6 separate regions of the Homo sapiens genome follow, and all the other regions are linked to region 5. The links are contacts of gene promoters, found by promoter capture Hi-C in blood cells and fetal thymus (Javierre and others, 2016). All regions are on one chromosome and are shown on one strand. Each heading gives the region's core, a stretch centred on a gene start or on the middle of the fragment in contact. The rest is flanking DNA. Distances are from core to core; before and after follow the strand shown.

Region 1 (4,375 bases), core at 1,720-4,219, 180 kb after region 5:
GACACAAGGTGGGGAACATCACATACTGGGGCCTGTTGTGGGGTGGGGGGCTGGGGGAGGGATAGCATTAGGAGAAATATCTAATGTAAATGACAAGTTAATGGATGCAGCACACCAACATGGCACATGTATATATATTTAACAAACCTGCACGTTGTGCACATGTACCCTAGAAAAAAAAAAGATACAAAATTATAGCTAGATAGGAGAAATCAGTTCTAGTGTTCTATAGCGCCGTAGAATGACTATAGTTAATAATAATACAATATATAGTTTCAAATAGCTAGAAGGATGTTGCACATTCTCAACACAAAAAAATGATAAACATTTGAGATGGTGGACGTGCTAATTACCCTGATCTGATAACTATAAATTATATGTATGGAAATATAATTATGTGCCCTCAAGAATATGTACAATTGCTATCAATTTAAAAAATTTAAAAACTGTATCATTGAATCCTTAAGACACTAAAGTTAATTTATATAAGAAATTAAAAAAATTTCTTATGCTGTTTTTCAAAAATCATAGCTTTTATGACTTCATATAAATATATCTAAAATAACTATGATATGTTTTTGTAGTCTAATAAAATTTGCACTGAATTCCAAACAATAAAAATAAAAAATAAAAAAAAAACTGGGCCAAAGAAATGAACAGTCACTTCACCAAAGAAAATATACAGATGGGGCTTGGCACCATGGCTTTGGGAGGCTGAGGTGGGAGGATCACTTGAAGCCAGGAGTTCGAGACCAACCTGGCCAACATCATGAAACCCTGTCTCTATTAAAAATACAAAAATTAGCCGGGCATGATGTTGCGTGCCTGTAATCCCTGCTACTCAGGAGGCTGAGGCACAAGAATTGCTTGAACCCAGGAAGGGGAGGTTGCAGTGAGCAAAGATAACAAGAAGAAGAAGAAAGAAGGAAGAAGGGAGAAAGAAGGAGAAAGAAGAAGGGAGGAGGAGAAGACACAGATGGCACATGAAAAGATGCCCAACATCATTAGCCATTAGAAAAACACAATGTATTTGAGGAAATAATTTTAAGACCGAGAGCAAGAAAATGTTTTTAATTTAAAAAAAGAAAAATGCCAAGTAAAATCACAATAGAAGAACAGCTAAAATTTTAAAAAGTGGTAACAGTGAATGCTGCAGAGAAACTGGATCACATACATTGCTGGTGGGAATGTAAAATGGTACAGACACTCCAAAAGTGTGGCACAATCTTTTTGTAGTTCATAAGCTTATGATGACGTAAGTGTGACGACATTGGGTTTTCACGTTCATGTGTGAGATGTGCCTCCCTCAAGCCTTATTACAATGCCAGTACATTTTTTTTCCACATCTGATGTGGAAAAAAAAAAAATGAAATAGTGCCGTGTCTTGTAAAACTAAACATATACCATTCTATTCTTGGGCATTTATCCCAAAGAAATGAAAAATTAAACTCATCCAAAACCCTGTCTATGATTGCTCACAGCAGCTTTACTCACAATGGCAAAATAGTGAAAATCTGAATGTCCTTCAATGAGTAAATGTTTGAACAAACGCTGGTACAACCACACAATGGAACACTCAACAATTTAAAAAATGAACTACTGATACAACAATTTAGATGGACCTCAAGGGAATTATGCTTTGCGAAAAAAGTCAATCTCAAATGGTTACATATTATACTATTCCATTTATATAACATGCTCAAATGTCAAAACTATAGAGATGGAGAACGGATAAGTGGAACAGGAACAGTGGTGGGTGTGGTGGTGGGCATGTGTGTGTGGGGGGTGCAGATACAAAGAACAGGGAGTTCCTTTATGGTAACAGTTCTAAGTCTTGATTGTGGTGGTGGTTACAGGAACATATATATGGCACGAAATTGCACACACTTATGCACAAATGAATAGATTTTTAAAATGGTGAAAACTAAGTTTTGTAATTTATTTAAAAGTAATGTACCAATATAAATTTCCTGGTTTTGATACTGAAGTACAGCTATGTAAGATATTGCCATTGAAGGAAGCTGAGTGAGAAGCCCACAGGACTCTGTACCATTTCTTGCAACTTCCTGAATCTATAATTATCTCAAAATAAAAAGGATCAGAATACATTCATGAGCAAAAAAGAGCAAATTACAGAATAAAACAAAAACTTGAAAACCTACATGTAATTTTCTTTTTGACTGCTCTTGCGGAACAGGGCTACCCTATAGGCAGTGTGCTGAGAGCAGCGTAATAAGTAAACACGTTTTGTCTAAGCATAGAAAAAAGTACCTAAGACTATAGACCAAGCTGTTATCTCTGGGGAAATGAAAATATGGGAGACAGGAGTGGGAGGGCAGGCAGAGGCTTTAACTTTTAATTTTATGTATTTCTAGATTATTTGATCTTTTTATAAGAGATTTTGCTTTTTTGTTTTTTAAAAGGTCTACCTGACAGAAATGTAGATGATAGGTTAGAAGGAGATAAATGTAAAGGCTGGGACATTCACCAGGCGACTAGGCAAAATGTAATGTGAACTTTAGTGACATACTGGATGTTGGAACTTATTCAAAGTGAAGAATTAAAAAAAAAGAGTTTCCTAGACGTAGCTACTGGGTAATGTTAATGCCCCATTAAACCCAGATTGGAAATTGTAAATGAGTGATTCAAGTAAAGAAGGAGAGAGGGAGAAAGTTGGAATAAGGAAGGATAGGAGGAAACAATAATACATTCAGCTTGAGGTATGTTTTAAGTTCCATTGAGACATCCAAGAGGAAATGTTTGGCAAGTGGCTTTGTCTACAATAGAGTCATCAGGAAAAGAGGTGGCAACTGAAGTTACAGGAGTGGGCAGAACATTCAGCAAAGGAGATTAAAAAGGAATAGTTTAAGAGGTGGGAGGAAAATAAGGGCTTTTTTATTTTTGGAGTCTTGCTCTGTCACCCAGGCTGAAGTGCCGTGTCATGATCTTGGCTCACTGCAACCTCTGCCTCCCAGGTTCAAGTGATTCTCCTGCCTCAGCCTCCCAAGAACGCTGAGTGCATTCTCATACCACGTGCCACCACGCCTGGCTAATTTTTTTGTATTTTTAGTGAAGACGGGGTTTCACCATGTTGGCCAGGCTGCTCTCGAACTCCTGACCTCAGGTGATCCACCCATCTCGGCCTCCCCCGGCCAGAGCTAAAAATTGTCATGGAAGCCAATCACAATACTGTTGTGAGGAAAGAATGGTCAATGATGTCAAATACTAGGGTGAGGTCAAGATAAGGACAGAAAAGTGCCCACTATATCTGATAATTATGTGATCCTGTTTACTTGGTAGACTGGACAGGGTGGAAGCCAGCTTAAAGCTAAGCGAGGCATTACTGGAAGACAAAGAAAATAGTGAGAGACGTTACATATTCATAAAAGAAGTCTGGCTGTCATAAAAAAGAATGAAACTCTGATACATGCTACAACATGGATGAACCTTGAAAACATGGTAAGTAAAACAAACCAGACACAAAAGGAAGAATATTGTATATAATGTATGATTTACTTATATGACATACCTAGAATAGGCAATTTCATAGAGATAGAAACTAGAATAGAGGTTACCAGGAGCTGGGAAGAAGGGGAGTTACCATGTAAGGGGTATAGAGTTTCTGTTTGGAATAATAAGAAAGTTCTGGAAATACACAGTGGTAATGGTTGCACTACACTGTGATTGAACTTAATGCCACTGATTTGTACACTTAAAAATAGTTAAAATGACGGCTGGGCATGATGGCTCATACCTGTAATCCCAGCACTTTGGAAGGCTGAGGGGAGGTGGATCACCTGAGGTCAGGAGTTTGAGACCAACCTGGCCAACTTGGTGAAACCCCGTCTCTACTAAAAATACAAAAATTACCCGGGCGTGGTGGTGCACGCCTGTAATCCCAGCTACTCTGGAGGCTGAGGCAGGAGAAACGTTTGAATCCAGGAAGCGGAGGTTGCAGTAAGCCAAGATCGCGCCACTGCACTCCAGCCTAGGAAACAGAATGAGACTCCGTCTCAAAAAAAAAAAAAAAAAAAGTTAAAATGACAAATTTTTATATTATGTATATTTTCCATAATAAAAAAGTCTGTATGGAAAGAGAAAGAGACAAGATGGCAGCAAGAGACCCAAGCAGGATCGGGGGAAGTTTTTCTTCTCTTCAATGACATGAAGGACTTAACTTTCATATGGAAATATTTCTCTTTTTCTTTTTTTTTTTTTTGGAGACAGAGTCTCATTCTGTCGCCCAGGCTGGGGTACAGTGGCACGATCTCAGCTCCAGGTGCATGTCACCAGCACCAGTCCCGGCTAATTTTTGTATTTTTAGTAGAGATGGGGTTTCACCATGTTGGCCAGGCTGGTCTTGAACTCCTGGCCT
Region 2 (4,705 bases), core at 941-3,440, 140 kb after region 5:
GTATGTGTGTGTGTGAGAGATGGAGTTTCACTCTTGTTGCCCAGGCTGGAGTGCAATGGCACGATCTCGGCTCACTGCAACCTCCCCCTCCCGGGTTCAAGTGATTCTCCTGCCTCAGCCTCCCGAGTAGCTGGGATCACAGGCATGCACCACCACGTCTGGCTACTTTTTGTATTTTTAGTAGAGATGGGGTTTCGCCATGTTGGCCAGGCTGGTCTTGAACTCCTGACCTCAGGTGATCCGCCCGCCTCGGCCTCCCAAAATGCTGGGATTACAGGCGTGAGCCACCGCGCCCAGCCCATCCTGTCCCTTCTCTAAACACTTTTCACCATCTCCATTACTATCAACCTCAACCAAGCCACCATCATCTCCTGCCTAGATTACTACAATAGCCTCCTAAGTACCCCTTGCATGTGTTTTCTCTTTGCCTGGAATGATCTTCCCCCAGATAGCCACATAATTTATTCCTTCACTTCATTAATTTCTCTGTTCAGATGTCACCTTCTCTGAAAGGCCTTTCCTGATCACCTTATCTAAAATAGCAACTCTCTCCTCCTTAACACATACACATTCTCTTTATACCATTATATTACTTTAGTGTTCTTTATAGTACTTATCACCACCTCACAGATATTTATTGCCTCTCTCCACCTCCATGAAAGGACTTTTGTTCAATGCTGTATTTCCAGCACTTAGATTAATCTTGGTACGTAGTATTCACTTAATAAATATTTATTGAATGAATATATGAATTATTTCTGGCTTTTAGAAGAATGGGTAACTACATAATTGAATAAATATATCTCTGTACCCCAAGGCCCAGCATACTACCGGGTACATAGTGGGAATTCAATAAATGTTTGTTGAATGAATCAAGGCTGTAAACATGCTCATAAGTCTTTCTCTTTTTTTAAGAGACAGGATCCATGGTGGGGTGCAGTGGTGCGATCATAGCCCACTGCAACCTCAAACTCCTGGGCTCAAGGGATCCTCTTGCCTCAGCCTCCCGAGTAGCTGGGACTACAGGTATATGCCACCATGTCTGGCTAGTTTTGTTTTTGGTTTTGTTTTTTGAGACAGTCTCAGTCTGTTGCCCAGGCTGGAGTGCAGTGATACAGTCATGGTTCACTGCAGCCTCAAACTCCTGGGCTCAAGTGATCCTCCCACATCAGCCTCCCAAGTAGCTAGGACTGCAGGTGCACACCACCATGCCCAGATAATTTTTTGATTTTTCACAGAGACATGGTCTCGCTATGTTGCCCAGGCTGGTCTAAAATTCCTGGGCTCAAGAGATCCTCCCACCTGGGCCTCCCAAAGTGCTGGGATTACAGGCATGAGCCACCACAGCCGGCCTCATAGGTCTTTTAAAAATTTTCTGGTTATCCCATTTCTCCCTTTAGCTATTACTATCATTCTCCTTCCCCTGATAGCCTAGCTGCTTTCTCACCTTCCAGTCACTTTTTTTTCAGCTTAAAAACTTTTATGAAATATATCACAAATACAAAAGTATATCTGACATTTATGGTAGATAAAAATCTCATATATAATTTAAAGAATAAGAAAATGAACATCTAAGTGCCCACCAATCAGCTTACAAACCAGAACATTACCAGAGCCTCTGAAGCTCTCTGGATACCCTTCTGAATTGCATTCCTTTCCTTCCCTGCAAGATATAACTGCTATTAGGAATTGTACTTTTTTTTCTTTTTGTTTATTTATTTTTTGAGACAGAGTCTCACTCCATCACCCAGACTGGAGTGGAGTGGCGTGATCTCAGTTCACTGCAACCTCCACCTCCCGGGTTCAAGAGATTCTCCTGTCTCAGCCTCCCAAGTAGCTAGGACTGCAGGCATGCGCCACCACGCCCGGCTAATTTTTGTATTTTTAGTAGCAATTGGGCTTTGCCATATTGCCCAGGCTGATCTTGAACTCCTGGCCTCAAGTGATCCTCCTGCCTTGGCCTTCCAAAGTGCTGGGATTACAGGCATGAGCCATCATGTCTGGCCAGTAATTATACTTTTCTTTATGGCTTTCTCACCCGTGTTTTTGAACCTTATATACATAGAATCATATCATATGAATTTTTCTGAACTTTCCTTCCACATTATGTTCGTGGGACTCATCTATGTTGATATTTGTATCTGTAGGTATTTTTACCAATGTATAGTTTTCCCTTTTATAATAATACCATAATTTACTAAACCATTCTCTTATTGAAGAACATTTGAGCTATTTTCAACTTTTTGCTATAAAGATCAGTGCAGCTATTAACACTCTTGAATTCTTGTACATGTCTTCTGGTACGGTGGTGCAAGAATTTTTCTAGCATATATACCTAGGGGTAGAATTGCTGATTAAGTCAGCTAGGTGCAGTGGCTCACGCCTGTAATCCCAGCACTTTGGGAGGCCAAGGCGGGCGGATCACCTGAGGTCAGGAGTTCAAGACCAGCCTGGCCAACATTTTCACGTTTATTGGCTATTCCTGTTTTCTCTTCTGTGAAATGCTGCTTTATGTTTTTTGGTCAGTTTTCATTGGATGGCTTGTCTTTTTCTTACCGATATATTGTCTTACATATTTTTTTTCAGAATTTAAAAAGAATTTTTGCTAAAGATAGACCTCCCTATGTTACCCAGTCTGGTCTCAAACTCGTGGACTCAAGCAATCCTCCCATCTCTGCCTGTCAAAGTTCTGGGATGCTGAGATTACAGGTGTGAGCCATCGCACTTGGCCAGGATTCTCTTGTTTTTGTTTGTTTGTTTGTTTGTTTGTTTGAGACAAGGTCTTGCTCTATCACCTAGGCTGGAGGAGTGCAGTGGTATGATCATAGCTCACTGCAGCCTCGAACTCCTGGGCTCAAGTGATCCTCCTACCTCGGCCCCCAAAGCATTGAGATTACAGGCATGAGCCACCGCAGTTGGCCAGGATAGTTATTCTTTTTTTGAGAAGGGGGTTCACTCTTGTTGCCCAGGCTGGAGTGCAGTGGCGTGATCTTGGCTCACTGCAACCTCCACCTCCCGAATTCAAGCAATTCTCCTGCCTCAGCCTCCCAAGTAGCTGGGATTACAGGCACCCACCACCACGCCCAGCTAATTTTTTTGTATTTTTTGTAGAGATAGGGTTTCACCATGTTGGCTGGGCTAGTCTCGAACTCCTGACCTCAGGTGATCTGCCGGCCTCAGCCACCATGCCTGGCCCAGGATAGTTATTCTTTATCAGTTATATGAATTGGAAACATCTTCTGCCAGCCCATCACCTTTTAAAATGATGTCTTATGATGAACAAAAGTTTATTTATTTATTTAGAAACAGAGTCTTGCTCTATCACCCAGGCTGGAGGGCAATGGTGTGATCTCGGCTCACTGCAGCCTTTGCCTCCTGCGCTCAAGTGAGTCTCCTGCCTTAGCCTCCCGAGAAGCTGGGATTACATGTATGTGCTACCATGCCCAGCTAATTTTTGTATTTTTAGTAGAGATGGGGTTTCACCATGTTGGTCAGGCTGGTCTCGAACTCCTGACCTCGAGTGATCCACCTGCCTCGGCCTCCCAAAGTGCTGGAATTACAGGCGTATGCCACCGTGCCCGGCTTCAAAAGTTTATATTTTTTAACACAGTTAAATGCATCCAAATTTTATTTTATGATTTGCCCTTTATGTTATTGTCTAAGAAATCCTTTTGTATACCAAGGCTATAGAAATATTCTTAGTGGGCACAGTGACTCACACCTATGATCCCAGCACTTAGCACTTTGGAAGGCTGAGGTAGGAGCATCGATTGAGGCCAGGAGTTTGGGACTGGCCTAGGCAACATAGTGAGACCCTGTCTCCATAAAAAGTACAAAAATTAGCCAGGCAGGTGTCATGTGCCTGTAGACCCAGCTATTCAGGAGGCTGAGATGGGAGGATCAATTGGGCCCAGAAGGTTGAGGCTGCAGTGAGCTGTGATTGCACTATTGCAATGCAGCCTGGGTGACAGAGTGAGACTCTGTCTCAAAAAAAAAAATTAAAATTAAAAAAATTTTTTAAATTATCTTTTATTTCTCCTAAAAGATCTAAAATTTTGGCCAGGCACAGTGGATCATGCCTGTAATCCCAGCACTTTGGGAGGCTGAGGCAGGTAGATCACTTGAGGTCAGGAGTTCAAGACCAGCCTAGCCAACATGGTGAAATCCCATCTGTACTAAAAATACAAAAATTAGCTAGGCATGGTGGCAGGCACCGGTAATCCCAGCTACTCGGGAGGCTGAGACAGGAGAATCACTTGAACCTGGGAGGTGGAGGTTGTAGGGAGCCAAGATTACACTACTGCACTCCAGCTTGGGCAACAGAGCAAGACTCAGTCTCAAAAAAAAAAAAAGTCTAAAATTTTTGCCTTGCACATCTAAGTCTTTTATCCATCTAGATTGATTTTTGCGTGATGTACGAGGTAGGGATCCCATTTCATTTTTTTCCTATATAGATAACCAACTGATCTAGCACTGTTTATTGAATAATCTGCAATGCTACCTTGATATTTACCAAGTTTCCATATGTGTTCAGGTCCGCTTCTAAGTTCTCTACTCTATTCCATTGCTACATTTGCCTATTCCTGTGCCAATCCCAAACTCTTAACTGTTGCTTTAAAATGTCTTTTTTTTTTTTTGAGGGAGAGAGAAAGAGAGAGAGGGTCTCACTCTGTTGCCCAGGCTGGAGTGCAGTGGCATAATCATG
Region 3 (4,151 bases), core at 285-2,784, 200 kb after region 5:
GGATCACTGTAACAATATAAAAATGAAATAAAAGACAACCAATGGTGTCTAATTATCAAAGCATCATTTGCTTAGAAGCACCTCTAAATCAAAAGCCTCACATTCGCTAGCATCCTCTCTCTACAGGGCTATTCAGGAGCATTCATATACTGAATGTCAACAACAGGAAGCAAAAACCTCCCTACATCCAAAGATTCCTGGCCTCTTTGATTTCAATGATAATGTACTCTTAAAAAAAAAAGATAATGTACCCATATAGCAAAAAGGTCAATATTTAAAATCACATACCAGTCACAACTGACATACACCACCACTCAGACTCTCCAAAATACACACACGTGTACACCCTAAACATTTTTCCTTTCCCCTGCACGATCCTCACAGTATTTGGCACAGAGACAGCTTACATCTGGAACTGCCATCATTTTCTGGGTGACAATGTTGTCCAGAATGAAAGAAAACGCCACTTGGTCATCATCATCCAGCAAGGGGTTGATAGCTTTCTCTAAGCGAGCTAATTTGTCTTCTTTCTGAAATTAAACAAAGCAAAGCCAAGACAGAGGTTTCCCTAAGGTGTGATCACCATAGAAAAGTTAAGGACAATTTGCCGGGCGTGGTGGCTCACGCCTGTAATCCCAGCACTTTGGGAGGCTGAGGCGGGCGGATCACAAGGTCAAGAGATCAAGACCATCCTGGCTAACACGGTGAAACCCCGTCTCTACTAAAAATACAAAAAAAAACTAGCTGGGCGTGGTGGCGGGCGCCTATAGTCCCAGCTACTCAGGAGGCTGAGGCAGGAGAATGGCGTGAATCTGGGAGGTGGAGCTTGCAGTAAGCCGAGATTGCACCACTGCACTCCAGCCTGGGTGGACAGAGCGAAGCTCTATCTCAAAAAAAATAAATAAATAAAAAATAAATTAAGGATAATTTAAGTTCAGCTAGCTATCTATTACCCTTGCCCCAGAAAGTGTAACTTTGAATTGCCTATGGAATGACAAAAAGTCAAGATAAATGATATTCCAGGCTGGGCACAGTGGCTCACACCTGTAATCCCAGCAATCTGGGAGGCCGAGCAGGTGGATCATATGAGGCCAGGAACTCGAGACCAGCCTGGCCAACATGGCAAAACCCCATCTCTACTAAGAATACAAAAAAAAAAAAAAATTAGCTGGGCGTGGTGGCACACGCCTGTGGTCCCAGCTACTCGGGAGGCCAAGAATCACTTAAACCCAGGAGGCGGAGGTTGCAGTGAGCCAAGGTCATCCCACTGCACTCCAGCCCAGGTGACAGAGCCAGACCCTGTCTCAAAAAAAAAAAAAAAAAATTCCAGTAAAAGGGTCAAAAAGGATGTGTCAACAACTTCTTTAGGTACTCTACATTCTATTCTTCTGGTTCACCAAAATTTATACTTCCCTGAGTGTCAACATCATAGCTCCCCACACACACAAAAAAACATCTTTAGCAATTTAGGCTTTAAGATCATGCTCTCTGTTTTTGCTGTAAAACTACTGCTGGAAACACTAAACATTATTACTGATTAGTGACTTTTGCGTAATGGGACCTAACCCAATAAATTCATTTTAGACTCTAGTAGGAAAAAGTTTGTATTCCTATTGCTCCAAATCCTCATCAACATTTAGTATTGTCAGTCTTTTTAATTTTAGCCTTTGCAGTGGGTATGTAGTGACATCGTGGTTTAAATTTGCATCTCCTCAATAATCAATCAAGTTGAGAATCTTTCCGTGTTTACTGGCTAGTTGTCCTCTTTTGTGAAATGTCTACTTCATACTTACACTTTTGTAGGTTTATAAAGTACCATTAATTGTTTTCAGTAAGAAGAGGGAATATAGATAGATTATCATTTAAAAATTAAAACTTCTAGCACTTGCTGCTTGGTTGGTTAAAAATATGAAGAAAAAATGAAAATTCTTCCTAAAACATTGACTGGTCTCTTAGCTACAGCTGACTTCCTGGAAACTCACTTTCCTTTGCCCTTTCTAATGAGTTATGTAGGTGCTGGATCTTAATTCTAACTTTGTTAATAGTCAAGATGTCCAGAGCAAATACTTTTCTTCTACGGGCCCAGTTTTTCCATCTACAAAAGGGACTGGCCTATGAGTTCTATAAGTCCCTTCCAGCCTTCACATATACTAAAGATCTGCTACTCCCGCATATATTTTTCCTTCTGTTAAATTCCCTACTTCCTAAACCCTGATATCCCACCCCCACCTTCAAATTCCACTGCCTTTCTCTCATTCTAACTGTCTTACCTCTTTGAGTTTTTCATCACAGAGATCCAGCATGGATTGAGAGATCTGAGTCAATGAGTGTTTTGGCCCTGTAGAGGAACAGAAAGAGATGAAACCACTAATAACGGGAGGCAAAAGCTGCCAACACTTCTTTATCCTTTTAATGCACTTACTTAAGAACCTAAAATGTGTCAGGCACCAGGCTAACTGATGGGTTAGACAGATACACCAGACTTATGTCCATTTTCCAGCACCTAAAACATAGCAGTTACACAATATGAATGAATAAACTAACTTTAACTCTTTCCTTGTGTGTATCTACACACAGTAGTACTACTGCTGCTTTTAATACCTCAAACATAATACTATGGAAGGGGAGCAATAATTTCTTTAAGAATGCCTAAAGAGTGAGCAGGCGGCAGCGGGCGGCTGGGGCTGCAGGCGGTCAGGCCTCCGGGTCAGGGCGGTGGCGCCATCTTGTGCCTGGGGCCGGTGGGGAGGCCGGGGAGGGGGCCCCGGGGGGCGTAGGGGACTACGGGAACGGCCTGGAGTCTGAGGAACTGTAGCCTGAGGAGCTGCCGCTGGACCCCGAGCCGGAGCCCAAGCCTGAAGAGGAGCCGCCCTGGCCTTGCGCCCCCCACCCCCACGGGAGCTCCAGGCCTGGTTCGGGAGCCCCTGGCAGCCAAGAGGAGGAGGAGGAGCCATGACTGGTCGAGGGTGACCCGGAAGACAGCGCCATTGAGGATCCGGAGCTGGAAGCTATCAAAGCTCGAGTTAGGGAGATGGAGGAAGAAGCTGAGAAGCTAAAGGAGCTACAGAACGAGGTAGAGAAGCAGATGAGTATGAGTCCACCTCCAGGAAATGCTGGCCCAGTGATCATGTCATTGAGGAGAAGATGGAGGCCGATGCCCGTTCCATCTATGTTGGCAATGTTGACTATGGTGCAACAGCAGAAGAGCTGGAAGCTCACTTTCATGGCTGTGGTTCAGTCAACCGTGTTACCATACTCTGTGACAAATTTAGTGGCCATTCCAAAGGGTTTGCATATATAGAGTTCTCAGACAAAGAGTCAGTGAGGACTTCCCTGGCCTTAGATGACTCCCTATTTAGAGGAAGGCAAATCAAGGTGATCCCAAAATGAACCAACAGACCAGGAATCAGCACAACAGATCGGGGTTTTCCAGGAGCCCGCTACCATGCCCGGACCACCAACTACAGCAGTTCCCTCTCTCGATTCCACAGTGGTTTTAACAGCAGGCCCCGGGGTCACGTCTACAGAGGCCAGGCTAGAGCGACATCATGGTACTCCCCTTACTAAAAAAAGTATGAGGAGGAAAGAGAAGAAAAAAAGAGGACAGAAGGGGAAAAAAAAAAAGAATTAAAAAAAATACAAACAAAAAACAGAAGATGACCTTGATGGGAAAAAAGTATTTTTTTAAAAAGATATACTGTGGAAGGGGGGGAGAATCCCATAACTAACTGCTGAGGAGGGACCTGCTTTAGGGAGCAGGGGAAGGCCCAGGGAGTGGGGCAGGAGGCTGCTTATTCACTCTGGGGATTCGCCATGGACACGTCTCAACTAGCAAGCTGCTCCCCATGTTTCCCTGCCCCATTTCACCCCCCTGGGGGCTGCTCAAGGGTAGGTGGGTGTGGGTGGTAGGAGGTTTTTTTATTTTTTAGCCAGGGCTCTGGAAGGACACCAAACTGTTCTGCTTGTCACCTTCCCTCCGTCTTCTAACCTTTCACAGTCCTCTCCTGCCAGCTCCTGTCCAGTCAGGTCTACCACCCACCCCACCCCTCTTCTCCGGCTCCCTGCCCCTCCAGATTGCCTGGTGATCTATTTTGTTTCCTTTTGTGTTTCTTTTTCTGTTTTGAGTGTCTTTCTTTGCAGGTTTCTGTAGC
Region 4 (4,463 bases), core at 250-2,749, 160 kb after region 5:
CCATCTACTCCCATACTTTTCCTCGGCCATTGCCATTAATCCACAAAATATCCCCAAACAGGATTTTTCTTAATTTTCCTTCCCTGTTGCCACATATAACACTTGATCATTCTGTTCTCATCTTTTTTTCTTTTTCTTTGGAGACAGAGTCTCACTATGTTGCCTAAGCTGTAGTGCAATGGTATGATCATGGCTCACTACAGCCTTGAAGTCCTGGGCTCAAGCGATCCTCCTGCCTCAGCCTCCTAACTAGAACTACAAGCACTCGCCACCACACCCAGCTAATTTTTATTTATTTACTTTTTGTAGAGACAGGGTCTCGCTATGTTGCCTAGGCTGGTCTCAAACTCCTGGTCTCAAGTGTTCCTCCTACCTTGGCTTCCCAAAGTGCTGGGATTACAGGCATGAGCCACTGTGCCCAGCCTTTAACAAGTATCCAGATCAAAGCTGTTACTTAGGCACTGTCTTTTCCACTGTTGTCTTTTGTACCTCCTGCTAATGAATATGATCATCCTACGCCTGAGTGCTCAGTACTCTCAGGTCTATTAATAGGAATTCAATAAAAGAGGCAGCTTCCAATAAAAGCATATGTGGCCAAGAGCGCCTATCCAGTCCAGTTCTGAGGGTGCTGTAGTGAGTTATAAAGGAATAGAAGCAATGGTTGAGGCCTACCAGAGAAAGGATTGTCTCCTTCTTCATCACTCCCAGCATCTTCCTCATCATCTTCTCCTTCAGACATAAGCAAATCCTCATACAGGACACTGGCTTGAGGCTGTTGTACAGTTCCTTCCTCTTCATCTGCAAGATCACCATCTCCATCTTCACCTTCCTGAATGAGACCAGTTGGGGGTCAAAGTCCTATCAACTGACCACATAAGAGACCAGAAGCCACCACCAGGCACACCCCCCCTCCCCGCCCCGCCCATCCCTCCACTTGCTGCCTCACAAGAAGTTAAGTAATTATTTTTGGTGGATAGACTGTTTAGTTGGTCCCAAGGATTAAAGTCAGATTGGGGCTCACTAAGGAGACCCCCTGATATCATCTTAGGATTTGGCCTGGCCTGTACTGATGGGGCTCCTATCATATAAGGGCATAACGTAACCATAAGCTTTCTATAAGCATACTCACTGGGGCTGGAGTCTTAGGTTTCCCATCCTCCTCCTCATCATCATACCCTTCAATATCTACATCAGAGTCTTCCTCGCCCAGCCTACCTCGGCCCTGGCGCATCTGAGTAAGGAACACAAATAGCACATCATTGAGGGACGTGCCTGTAGGAGGAGTTAACCAAGGGCTCTCACCCAGGGTGGATGCTCCTCCCTGATATCCCAGCCAATCCCACTGCTAGTGGGGGCTGTTTAGACAGCTCAAGGCATGCGCATTTTCCCCCATTCTTTGGAAATCACAGCCGGAGTAAAAAACCCAAAGAACAGGAAAGGCTCTTAGTCTACTCTTACTGTATTATTACAAAGAGACTCTTCCTTTCTAACCCAAACTTTCCTTATAGCTTGTGTTGAACTCTTTGGGATAGAAAAACCCTCCTGGGTTTTACACTTTCCAGTGGAACCCTGACTGAGAATAGCTGTAGAAAAGCTGTAGATATTTCTGATACCTCTAGAAAAGGCCAATTTTTAAAATTTAATTTTATAAATAATTTTAATTTAAATTATAATACACATAAAGTAGGCCAATTATTTTGAACTGTCTGAGTGCAGTTGGTCGCTCTAGTCACCCGTCAGGCTACTCTGATGCTTCACACCCTTTTTTCATACTTGTGTCTTCCCTGAAGTTCTGCTGTGCCTGACTCTACCCATGGGGACAGAGAGAATATAACACCAGTCACACGACCTGCTGCCATCCCAACTTGAAATCCCATTTCTAAGCTTTCATTCCCAGGGCCAAAGGGCCCAGTCATTCTTGACATATGTCACATATCACCATCACCATCACCATTCCCCTAGCCCCACTTGCAGGCACAATAACAATCTTATAAAGAGAAAAAGAACATCCTACCTGTGTTACCTGCTTTTCTGGAGTGGCACTGGGAATATCCAAGACAGACATATTGCTCTCATCTTGAAATACAGAGGCATCTCGAGACATACTGAGGGATGTGTTGGTATCATACAAATCAGGAGGCTGTGGCACAAAACATACAACTTAGCTTCTATCTAGGAAAGGGAAAATAAATACAGATAACTCCCCTTTAAGGCATTTACTGGAGAAAAAGATCATGCAGAGCAATTCAGTTAAAGAGAAACATAGTTTGACACAGCTTTACAGACAAGTTTTTGGGACTCTTATAAATGTTGCCTATTCTAGTAGACAGGTGCCTGATGCACGTAATCAGAAGCCTGAAGCAGAAATGCACCAAAGCTATGGGACAATTTTATGTCCTAACAGCCTTTCTGGTCAATAACCTAGTTTTTTTCTAAGCCTTGTCTTTCGGTTTTTAGGCCCAAGGCTTCATATCAGTGCTATTTTGATTGCTTGATTTGGAGACAGAGGAAATGAGATAAAGGAATTTCAATTCCAACAAGAGCATAGAATGCTTTGATAGTTTATGAGCCCATCAGAGGATGCTACGAAGCAAAATGGCATGGTGAAAAATCATAGGCCTTGGAGTAAAATGTCCTGGGTTTGAGTCCTGGCCCCAACACTTGCTAGTGAGTAACAAATTACTTAACATCTCTAAGCCTTGATTAACTCAACTATAAAACATGGATGATAATGTCTACCTCACAGGGTTGTTGTGAGAATTAAGAGATGTGTAAGTTCCTTACCCATGCCTGGTACTCAATATATTATAGATCCCTTCCCTGTTTTCTGCCCTGGAAAGAACAGGGATTCAGCAAATGGACTATTCTGTGACAGGAGGGCAAGAAGGACTAGATAAAGTGCTCACAAAATAATGTAAAGTGAAAAGAGTTAAGACACAAAACCATATTGATCAATTTCATTTTAAAAGTGTGTCTATAAACACAAATACATACGCTACAGATATGAAAGAAATAAAAATATTCACACTGGCTGATGTTGCTTCTGAGTGGTGGAAGTGATTACAAGAGGTAACTTATTTCTTGTTTTTATTTTCCAGTTTTCTCTAACAAACATGTTACTTTTATCAACAGATAGAACAGATATGTGTTACATTGTGTTTTTTAAAAAAGGAAACAAAACTGATTCAGAAGAGGGTTTTGGAGAAACAGAGGCAAAACAAAATTCAAAGCATTACAGAGCAGGTAAATCAATGTGGAACAGAAGAAAGGAAAAATAAGGGGATGAAATTTCTGCAAAACCCTACGGCACAGTGCAGAAAACTGCAAAGTCAACAGTTTTAGATAAGGTGTTAAGCTGAACAGATGATGCAATCCAAGTTAGGTGGAAACAGTTGAGTGAAAATACATTATTGGGCCGGGCGCGGTGGCTCACGCCTGTAATCCCAGCACTTTGGGAGGCCGAGGTGGGCCTGAGGTCGGGAGTACGAGACCAGCCTGACCAACATGGAGAAACCCTGTCTCTACTAAAAATACAAAATTAGCCAGGCGTAATGGCCCATGCCTGTAAAACCAGCTACTCGGGAGGCTGAGGCAGGAGAATCACTTGAACCCGGGAGGCGAAGGTTGCAGTGAGCCGAGATTGCGCCATTGCACTCCAGCCTGGGTGACAAGAGCAAAACTCGGTCTCAAAAAAAAAAAAAAAAAAAAAAAAAAAAAAAAAAAAAAAAAAAGAAAATACATTATTGACCACCACCATTTAGAAGTTGAAAGGTATGATTACTATCATGCTTCTTACAACCAACATTGTATTAAGGCAGGTTACACTTTTGCAAACACACTCTAATAACATTTGAGTTTGACAGTAGTAATGTAAGTAAAGTAAGGACAGTCACTCATGTACACCTTCCTCAGGTTAAGAGATAATGAGTTGGTTACTATCTTAAACTGTTTGTGAGTGAAGGGAATGATGAAAAGGTGAACTGGAATAATGAAGCAGTACTATCTAATCCTACTCTTCATAGGAAACCCTCTAACTGCACCAAATGACAGCTAATGCTCAAGAGAGAAATAGCTAACAGGTTGTCCTTAGCCATTTGAGGTAGTCTGGGAGACGTAGTGAAGAAAGGAAGGTGACTTTGGGGTCTAAGGCTTTGACTCACCAAAGGACTAGGCTTAGGCTGTCCTAGAAATGAGCAAACCATGTGCCATTCAATGGCTAGACTCTCCTGGGGAATGATGGCTAATACCCAGGCTTTAACTTACCAGAAAGTACCTTGTGGAAGCTGTGGGCCTATTAGCAAATAGGGCCTTCCTGGGCAACATCACTCACCCAAGCCCCCTTGACCCAATCTGCCCACACACTCCAAGAGCCTTTCCTTGTTCTGGACCTTGAAGAAGTATCTGAGGGTTCTTTTATACCTGGCCCCTCAGTAACCTAGGTTGTGAGATGAAAGAGAGAGTAA
Region 5 (4,098 bases), core at 336-2,835:
TCTCTTCTCTCTTCTCTCTTCTTTCTCTCTCTCCCTCCACCCCTGCTTTCCAACTAGGGGAGAGAGAGAAAGAGGAAACTGCTTGGGAGAAGCAAATTACGGGCAGCCTTGCCCACTGGTAATGAGAAGAGGGCGACAGGGAGGGGAGAAGAGGGCAAAGGGGAGAGCTGAGGGCAGGTGGGGAGAGGAATTGTTCACCATTCTCTGCCATAAAGTGACTGATGTGCTGTACCAAGGCTGCCTTACAGCTTTTCCTTAAGATCAAGAAGTTCCTATGGCCTCCTCCCCAACCCCATCCTCCTTCTTGCCCGAGAAGCAACTGCTTTTATGAATTTGTGGTATCTCCTGTCCCTGTTTTAAACCTCGAGAACCAACAGTGTTATCCAAAACAACATGGTATTGATTTTGTGGTGGTTTTTAGAGTTTATGTAAGTGGCATCAAACTATACATGGCATTCTGTAACTTGCTTCTTCTACCATGTGATCGTTGGCTTTTCTAGATGCATCCATGTTCAAATGTGTAGCTTTAGTTCATTTGTTTTTAACTGCATGAATATATCATAGCTTATTCACTTAAAAGAAACTGAAGACAGTGTTCATGAGTAGGAAAAGGAGAATCAGACAGCCGTGGGATCAATCCTCACGCCCACCTTTAATTGCCGTGTCTGGCGAAGGCCTGTCCCCTTTCTGAATCATCCATGCAGATAACCCCGCACGTCACAAGTGAGTTGTGTGGTTGAAATAAGGCAGTGTCGGAGAAAGCACCTAAAGCAATGTCTATCACATAGCAAGTTCATTACTGGTAGTTCCCTTTCTTTTTCCCCACTGATTAGCAGGGAGAGGTGGTGGTAAAAAGCTAGATTTAGTGTAACGGCTTTTTAAAAAAATATTTTAATTCCCTTTTTAAGAGACAGGGCCTCACTCTGTCACCAGGCTGGAGTGCAGTGGTACAATTATATCTCAAGGCAGACTTGAACTCCCGGGCTCAAGCAATCCTCCTGTCTCAGGCTTCCAAGTAGTTAGGACTACAGGCACATGCCACCATGCCCGGCTGGCTTTTTTTATTTTTGGTAGAGATGGAGCCTCGCTATGCTGCCCAGGCTGGTCTCAAACTCTTGGCCTTAAGTGATCCTCTTGCCTCAGCCTCCCCAGTAGCTGGGATTACAGGAATGAGCCACTGCACCTAGCTGAAATTTTTAAGAAGGTGGATCTCCTCTGCAGACTTATTTCTCTACCCAGCCTTTACAATCATGCAAAGATCAACTCAAGGCCAGGACAGATGAGTTCCAATCTATGGAGCACTGACCCTACCAGTGCAGGCAGTAGGGTTGCCCTTCACTTCTCAGCTGCATTGCTTCCTCTTCAGACCTCTCTTCTCAAAGGACCTGCCCCCAGCCAGTCATCCTCTGCCCAGCTTTTCTGGTCCCAAGCTTGTAGCCAGCTCCTCCAGAGAGGTTTCACCCAGTCACGGAAACTCTGTGGCCTGAGGTTTAGGGAGGTCTGGTAGAGGTAACTCCCTGGAAGAGGCTGCTGCTGAGAACTGCCTGAAACTCCCACTTCCTCTGTGACTGCAGGTTTCCAACCACAAGCACCAAAGCAGAGGGGCAGGCAGCACACCACCCAGCAGCCAGAGCACCAGCCCAGCCATGGTCCTTGAGGTAAGTGCTGCTGCCCAGCCAGGCCAGGCCAGAATTCGAAGTGGAAAACCCGGGGCATCAGGGGAATGCCAGGGCTGGCCCACAGCCCAGGGTCACCACAGGGTTGGGTGAGTAGCTGGAGGCCGCATGGGTTGTGGCAGAAACAGCACTGGGGAATTGGGAACCCAGCTTGGCCACTGACCCTGGGTGCCTCTCCTCTCCTCTCTGGCTTCGGTGTCTCGTCTGCAAAATGGGGGGGGCGGGGGGCAAGTAGACTCGAAGGCTCCCTTCAGGAGACTTGGAACTTTGACTCTTGGCGTGCTGGACTAAATTGGTACTGGGGAGACCTGCAGGTCCATAGTGCTGGGGGTGAGGGGATAAAGAAGATTCCTTCTCAAGCTAAGTGGGGGATCCCCTTGTGGGCAGCTAAATGGCCGTGCAAGCCTCAGTGTAGGGAGGGGGAAGGACTGGGCAGACTGCATGCATTTGGGGGGCGTGGTGACTTGTAGAGAGGCCACACGGTGGGGGGGGGCGCAGGAAGTTGGGGTCCCCGGACAAGGGCCAAGGAGGGAAGAGGAGGGTTAGTGACTGGAAAAGGGGATTGTGGAGAGGCGCTGGGGAGGAAGGTGGTTGAACTATGTGTTGGGGGTGGGGCACTGAGGACGCAAGGCAAGCCTGAAGGGAGAGCAGGGAGAGAGAGGACAGTGGGCAGAGAGGGCTCTGGGCACTGGAGGGACGCTCTTCTTCCTGCCCAGGGGTCCCTGGGCCGATGGGATCACGCAGAAGAATGCGAGAGAAGCAGCCTTTGAGAAGGGAAGTCACTATCCCAGAGCCCAGGCTGAGCGGATGGAGTTGAGGAAGTACGGCCCTGGAAGACTGGCGGGGACAGTTATAGGAGGAGCTGCTCAGAGTAAATCACAGACTAAATCAGACTCAATCACAAAAGAGTTCCTGCCAGGCCTTTACACAGCCCCTTCCTCCCCGTTCCCGCCCTCACAGGTGAGTGACCACCAAGTGCTAAATGACGCCGAGGTTGCCGCCCTCCTGGAGAACTTCAGCTCTTCCTATGACTATGGAGAAAACGAGAGTGACTCGTGCTGTACCTCCCCGCCCTGCCCACAGGACTTCAGCCTGAACTTCGACCGGGCCTTCCTGCCAGCCCTCTACAGCCTCCTCTTTCTGCTGGGGCTGCTGGGCAACGGCGCGGTGGCAGCCGTGCTGCTGAGCCGGCGGACAGCCCTGAGCAGCACCGACACCTTCCTGCTCCACCTAGCTGTAGCAGACACGCTGCTGGTGCTGACACTGCCGCTCTGGGCAGTGGACGCTGCCGTCCAGTGGGTCTTTGGCTCTGGCCTCTGCAAAGTGGCAGGTGCCCTCTTCAACATCAACTTCTACGCAGGAGCCCTCCTGCTGGCCTGCATCAGCTTTGACCGCTACCTGAACATAGTTCATGCCACCCAGCTCTACCGCCGGGGGCCCCCGGCCCGCGTGACCCTCACCTGCCTGGCTGTCTGGGGGCTCTGCCTGCTTTTCGCCCTCCCAGACTTCATCTTCCTGTCGGCCCACCACGACGAGCGCCTCAACGCCACCCACTGCCAATACAACTTCCCACAGGTGGGCCGCACGGCTCTGCGGGTGCTGCAGCTGGTGGCTGGCTTTCTGCTGCCCCTGCTGGTCATGGCCTACTGCTATGCCCACATCCTGGCCGTGCTGCTGGTTTCCAGGGGCCAGCGGCGCCTGCGGGCCATGCGGCTGGTGGTGGTGGTCGTGGTGGCCTTTGCCCTCTGCTGGACCCCCTATCACCTGGTGGTGCTGGTGGACATCCTCATGGACCTGGGCGCTTTGGCCCGCAACTGTGGCCGAGAAAGCAGGGTAGACGTGGCCAAGTCGGTCACCTCAGGCCTGGGCTACATGCACTGCTGCCTCAACCCGCTGCTCTATGCCTTTGTAGGGGTCAAGTTCCGGGAGCGGATGTGGATGCTGCTCTTGCGCCTGGGCTGCCCCAACCAGAGAGGGCTCCAGAGGCAGCCATCGTCTTCCCGCCGGGATTCATCCTGGTCTGAGACCTCAGAGGCCTCCTACTCGGGCTTGTGAGGCCGGAATCCGGGCTCCCCTTTCGCCCACAGTCTGACTTCCCCGCATTCCAGGCTCCTCCCTCCCTCTGCCGGCTCTGGCTCTCCCCAATATCCTCGCTCCCGGGACTCACTGGCAGCCCCAGCACCACCAGGTCTCCCGGGAAGCCACCCTCCCAGCTCTGAGGACTGCACCATTGCTGCTCCTTAGCTGCCAAGCCCCATCCTGCCGCCCGAGGTGGCTGCCTGGAGCCCCACTGCCCTTCTCATTTGGAAACTAAAACTTCATCTTCCCCAAGTGCGGGGAGTACAAGGCATGGCGTAGAGGGTGCTGCCCCATGAAGCCACAGCCCAGGCCTCCAGCTCAGCAGTGACTGTGGCCATGGTCC
Region 6 (4,195 bases), core at 673-3,172, 230 kb after region 5:
TGTATACAACCCAATCCCCTCCCTATCCTCCCATTCTTACCTGTAGAAAGTCTCGAATATGCGTATTGGCCCTTTTGGAGTTAGGCCCAGGAACTTCAAACAAGGGACACTGCTGGCCAACCACAAAAATATCCACTAATTCCCGAATATAGTAACCCTGTCTTGTCCGAATGATCAAGAAATCAGTTTCTGGCATCTTATGAAGATAAATTGGAGCACGAAAAAGGTTGTTCTCAAATGCCTAACAAAAGTAAAAACACAAAAATTATATACAGAGTAGCCCTAGGAAATTCAGTCAACTGCTGAGAAAGAAATACCAAGCTTATTGCTCTCCATCTTAATTACGCCATCTAAGGTCTATCCAGTAATACAAATAAATTAAAATATAGATTATCAAATGTGACTAAACAATTTTTCATCCACTATCTTTCAGAGTCAGTAGGGGAGAAAATACAGGATGTGAATTCAGATGATGCTAGCTCTGCCATTACCTCTATGATTTAACATGTCTATTTAAGCTATTTAACATGTCTAAGTTTAGTTTTCCTCATCTACAAAACAGAGATACTTAAAAATGCCTATACCTCACAGGACTGCTATGAAGATTACATATGAAAATCACTTCATAATGTACCAAGTACTATACTACTACCCTAGACCCCAGTGTAGCCCAACACACAACGTGTGAGAGCAACATTTGTTGAATAAATTATTAAACTAATTAAAAAACAAAACAACGCCGGGCACAGTGACTCATGCCTGTAATCTCAGCACTTTGGGAAGCCGAGGCAGGTAGATCACTTTACCTCAGGAGTTCAAGACCAGCCTCGGCAACATGACAAAACCCCATCTCTACAGAAAATACAATAATTAGCTGGATGTGGTGGCGTGCGCCTATTGTCCCATCTACTTGGGAGGCTGAGGTAGGAGGATGGCTTGAGCCCAGGAGGCAGAAGTTGCAGTGAGCCAAGATCGTGCCACTGCACTCCAGCCTGGGTCACAGAGCCAGACCCTATCTCCAAACAAATAAATCATAAAACAACCAATGAGGTAGAAAGAGTGCTAGACAGAATAGGCTGGGAAAAAACAAAAGGAAAACACAAGACAGTAGGACAGAGGACAGCTGAACAGAAACATTTGAGCCAGTTTAAGTAGAGGCAAGATAGGGATAAACTGTCACAAGAAGCCTGAGTCTAAGGAAAGCCTTCCCCGAAAATCAGAAGAGTAGACAGAAAGAGGGAAGACCATCACTGAGTGTGGAAAGAAAATTCTACATGTGAAATATAGGCAGAAAAAGAATTACAGAAGAATACAGAAAAAGATCTTTTTTTTTTTTTTTTGAGATGGAGTTTCGCTCTTGTTGCCCAGGCTGGAGTGCAATGGCGCGATCTCGGCTCACTGCAACCTCCACCTCCCGGGTTCAAGTGATTCTCCTGCCTCGGCCTCCCGAGTAGCTGGGATTACAGGCATGTGCCACCATGCCCGGCTAATTTTGTATTTTGAGTAGAGGCAGAGTTTCTCCATGTTGGTCAGACTGGTCTCGAACTCCTGACCTCAGGTGATTCGCCCACCTCGGCCTCCCAAAGTGCTGGGATTAACAGGCGTGAGCCACCACGCTCGGCCAGAAAAAGATCTTTAAGAGACTACAAAAGTAGCCACAAAAGAAGAGGCTGAATTGGTAGAAAACCTCAACAGAAAGTTCCAGGGAAAGGAGAAGAACAATACAAAGATGATACTAAACATCCGGTTAGCAATAGACTATGAATGTAAAGGATAAAGAAAAAAACTGAGCTTTGCAGATGCTTTAGGAGAATAAACAACAACAACAGTAGAATAAACTAGGTATAAGAGTAGGACAAATGGTTAAGATTGCCAAGAGAAATGAAATGGAGAAAAAAAACAAGATGGGAGAGTGCTAGAGATTTTCCACATCATTTGTGGACCATCATACTTCCCCCCTTGAATATATAAAAGCTGTTATAAGAGAGCCTCTTTACACCCATTAGAACAAAGGAGGGAAAAAAAAAGCATTTCACTATGGCTGGGGACTGTAGATGGCACAGTTCAGGTGTGGTTCAATATTCACAATAACCACAGCTAATGTGATCAAAATGTTATCAATTTTATACACAAAAATTAAATATTCATAAATTATAGTAAATTTATAGTAAATTCATCCTAGGTTGACTTCCTTATGCTTCCCAGATGTTACTGAGCTTACCAGTGTGTATTTTTAAAAACCTATTTTACATTTAGCCTGAGAATAACACAATTCACAGCCAGTTTTAAGAAAAAGATTTCTTTAAAACATTTTTGGATTATACTTATTTTCTTTGTACTTAAAATTAAAGCATCTCAATCAACTAGAATTATAATAGTTCTTTCTGAGCTGACTGGTTCCTCATTTATCAATTTCCTTAGTTAACAGTAAAAACAGGAAAGAATTCCTCACTTGCAGCAATTGGCCAGGATGGAGAGAACCCAGGAAAGGAGATGTATGGCAGTAAACAGTTTCCCCATATTTACAATCTGGTGCTCCAGGATCTTTTCCAGGTTTCTATAAGGAACACAGAAGACCCAGTTATTTAGAATATATCAATAATCCTACACAATATGACCATAGCACTTTACTAATACAGGTTGAGTATCCCTCATCCAAAATGCTTGTGACCAGAAGTGTTTCGGATTTTGGAATAGTTGCATTATACTTACCAGTTGGGCATCCCAAATCTGGAAATCCAAAATGCTCCAATGAGCATTTGAGTATCATCATAGTGCTCAAAAAGTTTAGGATTGGCCGGGCATGGTGGCTCATACCTGTATCTCAGCACTTTGGAAGGCCAAGACGGGCAGATCACGAGGTTAAGAGATCGAGACCATCCTGGCCAACATGATGAAACCCTGTCTCTACTAAAAATACAAAAATTAGCTGGGTGTGGTGGCACACGCCTGTAGTCCAGCTACTCAGGAGGCTGAGGCAGAAGAATTGCCCAAACCCAGGAGGTGGAGGTTGCAGTGAGTGGAGATCATGCCACTGCACTCCAGCCTGGCAAAAGAGCAAGATTCAGTCTCAAAAAAAAAAAAAAAGTTTTGGATTTTGATTTCGAATTTTGAGATTTGAGATGCTCAACATGTTATAACTACAAAAAAAGGTACCACTCCTTTCTCCCAAGAAATTTATGGTATATGTTCACAGATTACCAGTAGATCTCTAACTACAGCTACGTTAATAATAAAAAATTTGTATGTAAGTTTGCAGTTTGTCTCACTACAGCTATGTTAATAACAAAAAGTTTGTACATAAAAGTTTATGGAAGCATAAGCAGAATTATGTATGGGAAAAAAATTTTCTGAGCAGAGACTCACCCGTTTATAATAGTTCTTTATCTTGGTTGCCATGCCAACCTGCATCATTAAGGGTCCATTTTCCTCACTATATTCTGCAAGAATAAGATCACCATCTTTGCCTGTGAGGTCCTGAGGTGTGCGCATAAAAAACATCTCTCCACCACCTGAAGCTTGCCTCTCTTGTTCTCTCATCTGTCCAGAACAAAGAAAATACCATCTAGCTCCTGACAGGACACTACTACACACAATGACGTTGTTCAATCTGAGACAAACACACCAAAAACATTTTACCTATTTTCCAATTTCATAATCAAAATTTTCAAACATACTGTAAAGTTCAAAGAATAGTACAGTCGGCCCTCCATATCCATGTATGGGTTCTGCATCCGTGATTTCAACCAACCATAGATAGAAAATATTCAGAAAATACAAGTGCATCTGTGCTGAACAGGTACAGACTTTTCTTGTCATTATTCCCTAACCAATAACAGTGTTAACAACTATTCACATAGCATTTACATTGGAGTAGGTATTATAAGTAATCTAGAGGTGATTTAAACTATAGGAGAGGATGTGCATAGGTTATGTGCAAATATTATGCTATTTTATCAGAAACTGGAACATCTAAAGATTTTGGTATCCAGAGAAGGTCCTAGAACCAATCTCCCAGAGATAACGAAGGACGACTGTACTATGAACACTTATTATCCCACGTCGCTGTTTATATTTCGCCATTTTTTTAAACTTTTATCTTTCTATAGACTTTGCTGGACAGTTTTTGAAAGATGCAGTCATTCTGACACCTCACCTTTAAATATTTTCACATGCATCACCTAACAATAAAGAC

The links. The method cuts DNA at HindIII sites, captures the fragments that hold promoters and counts their contacts. A CHiCAGO score of 5 or more calls a contact.
Region 1: a contact is called between a fragment that was not itself captured here and the fragment with the promoter of CXCR3 in region 5, in 6 of 17 cell types (non-activated CD4 T cells, total CD8 T cells, activated CD4 T cells and 3 more). The highest score is 8.8, in non-activated CD4 T cells.
Region 2: a contact is called between a fragment that was not itself captured here and the fragment with the promoter of CXCR3 in region 5, in 1 of 17 cell types (activated CD4 T cells). The highest score is 5.4, in activated CD4 T cells.
Region 3: a contact is called between a fragment that was not itself captured here and the fragment with the promoter of CXCR3 in region 5, in 1 of 17 cell types (non-activated CD4 T cells). The highest score is 5.7, in non-activated CD4 T cells.
Region 4: a fragment that was not itself captured here is called in contact with the fragment with the promoter of CXCR3 in region 5 in 4 of 17 cell types (total CD8 T cells, activated CD4 T cells, non-activated CD4 T cells and 1 more); the score reaches 6.7 in total CD8 T cells.
Region 6: a fragment that was not itself captured here is called in contact with the fragment with the promoter of CXCR3 in region 5 in 3 of 17 cell types (activated CD4 T cells, M2 macrophages and non-activated CD4 T cells); the score reaches 7.1 in activated CD4 T cells.

Annotation. Positions count from the first base shown.
Region 1 is chrX:71,437,494-71,441,868 of GRCh38, reverse strand. The region is part of intron 32 of TAF1 (TATA-box binding protein associated factor 1); the gene reads right to left. It also overlaps the pseudogene LOC124905281. Among named protein-coding and RNA genes, the nearest start is that of TAF1, 73 kb to the right of the region's middle. The HindIII fragment of the contact is 3,445 bases long and covers 1,247-4,375 here.
Region 2 is chrX:71,476,591-71,481,295 of GRCh38, reverse strand. It overlaps a transcript of TAF1 not described here. Among named protein-coding and RNA genes, the nearest start is that of OGT, 54 kb to the left of the region's middle. The HindIII fragment of the contact is 6,178 bases long and covers 1-4,705 here.
Region 3 is chrX:71,419,496-71,423,646 of GRCh38, reverse strand. TAF1 (TATA-box binding protein associated factor 1) reads right to left here. Exons shown (of 38, transcript NM_004606.5): 29 at 2,271-2,338; 30 at 408-530. It also overlaps the pseudogene PABPN1P1. Among named protein-coding and RNA genes, the nearest start is that of TAF1, 55 kb to the right of the region's middle. The HindIII fragment of the contact is 6,757 bases long and covers 1-4,151 here.
Region 4 is chrX:71,455,918-71,460,380 of GRCh38, reverse strand. It overlaps TAF1 (TATA-box binding protein associated factor 1), which reads right to left. Exons shown (of 38, transcript NM_004606.5): 35 at 2,015-2,140; 36 at 673-829. Among named protein-coding and RNA genes, the nearest start is that of OGT, 75 kb to the left of the region's middle. The HindIII fragment of the contact is 775 bases long and covers 1,112-1,886 here.
Region 5 is chrX:71,615,998-71,620,095 of GRCh38, reverse strand. It overlaps CXCR3 (C-X-C motif chemokine receptor 3), which reads left to right and starts at 1,585. Exons shown (of 2, transcript NM_001504.2): 1 at 1,585-1,658; 2 at 2,637-4,098. The coding sequence starts at 1,647. The coding sequence ends at 3,731. RefSeq lists an enhancer at 3,586-3,855. The HindIII fragment of the contact is 3,713 bases long and covers 1,433-4,098 here.
Region 6 is chrX:71,383,307-71,387,501 of GRCh38, reverse strand. TAF1 (TATA-box binding protein associated factor 1) reads right to left here. Exons shown (of 38, transcript NM_004606.5): 13 at 3,367-3,540; 14 at 2,453-2,557; 15 at 41-241. Among named protein-coding and RNA genes, the nearest start is that of TAF1, 19 kb to the right of the region's middle. The HindIII fragment of the contact is 3,197 bases long and covers 324-3,520 here.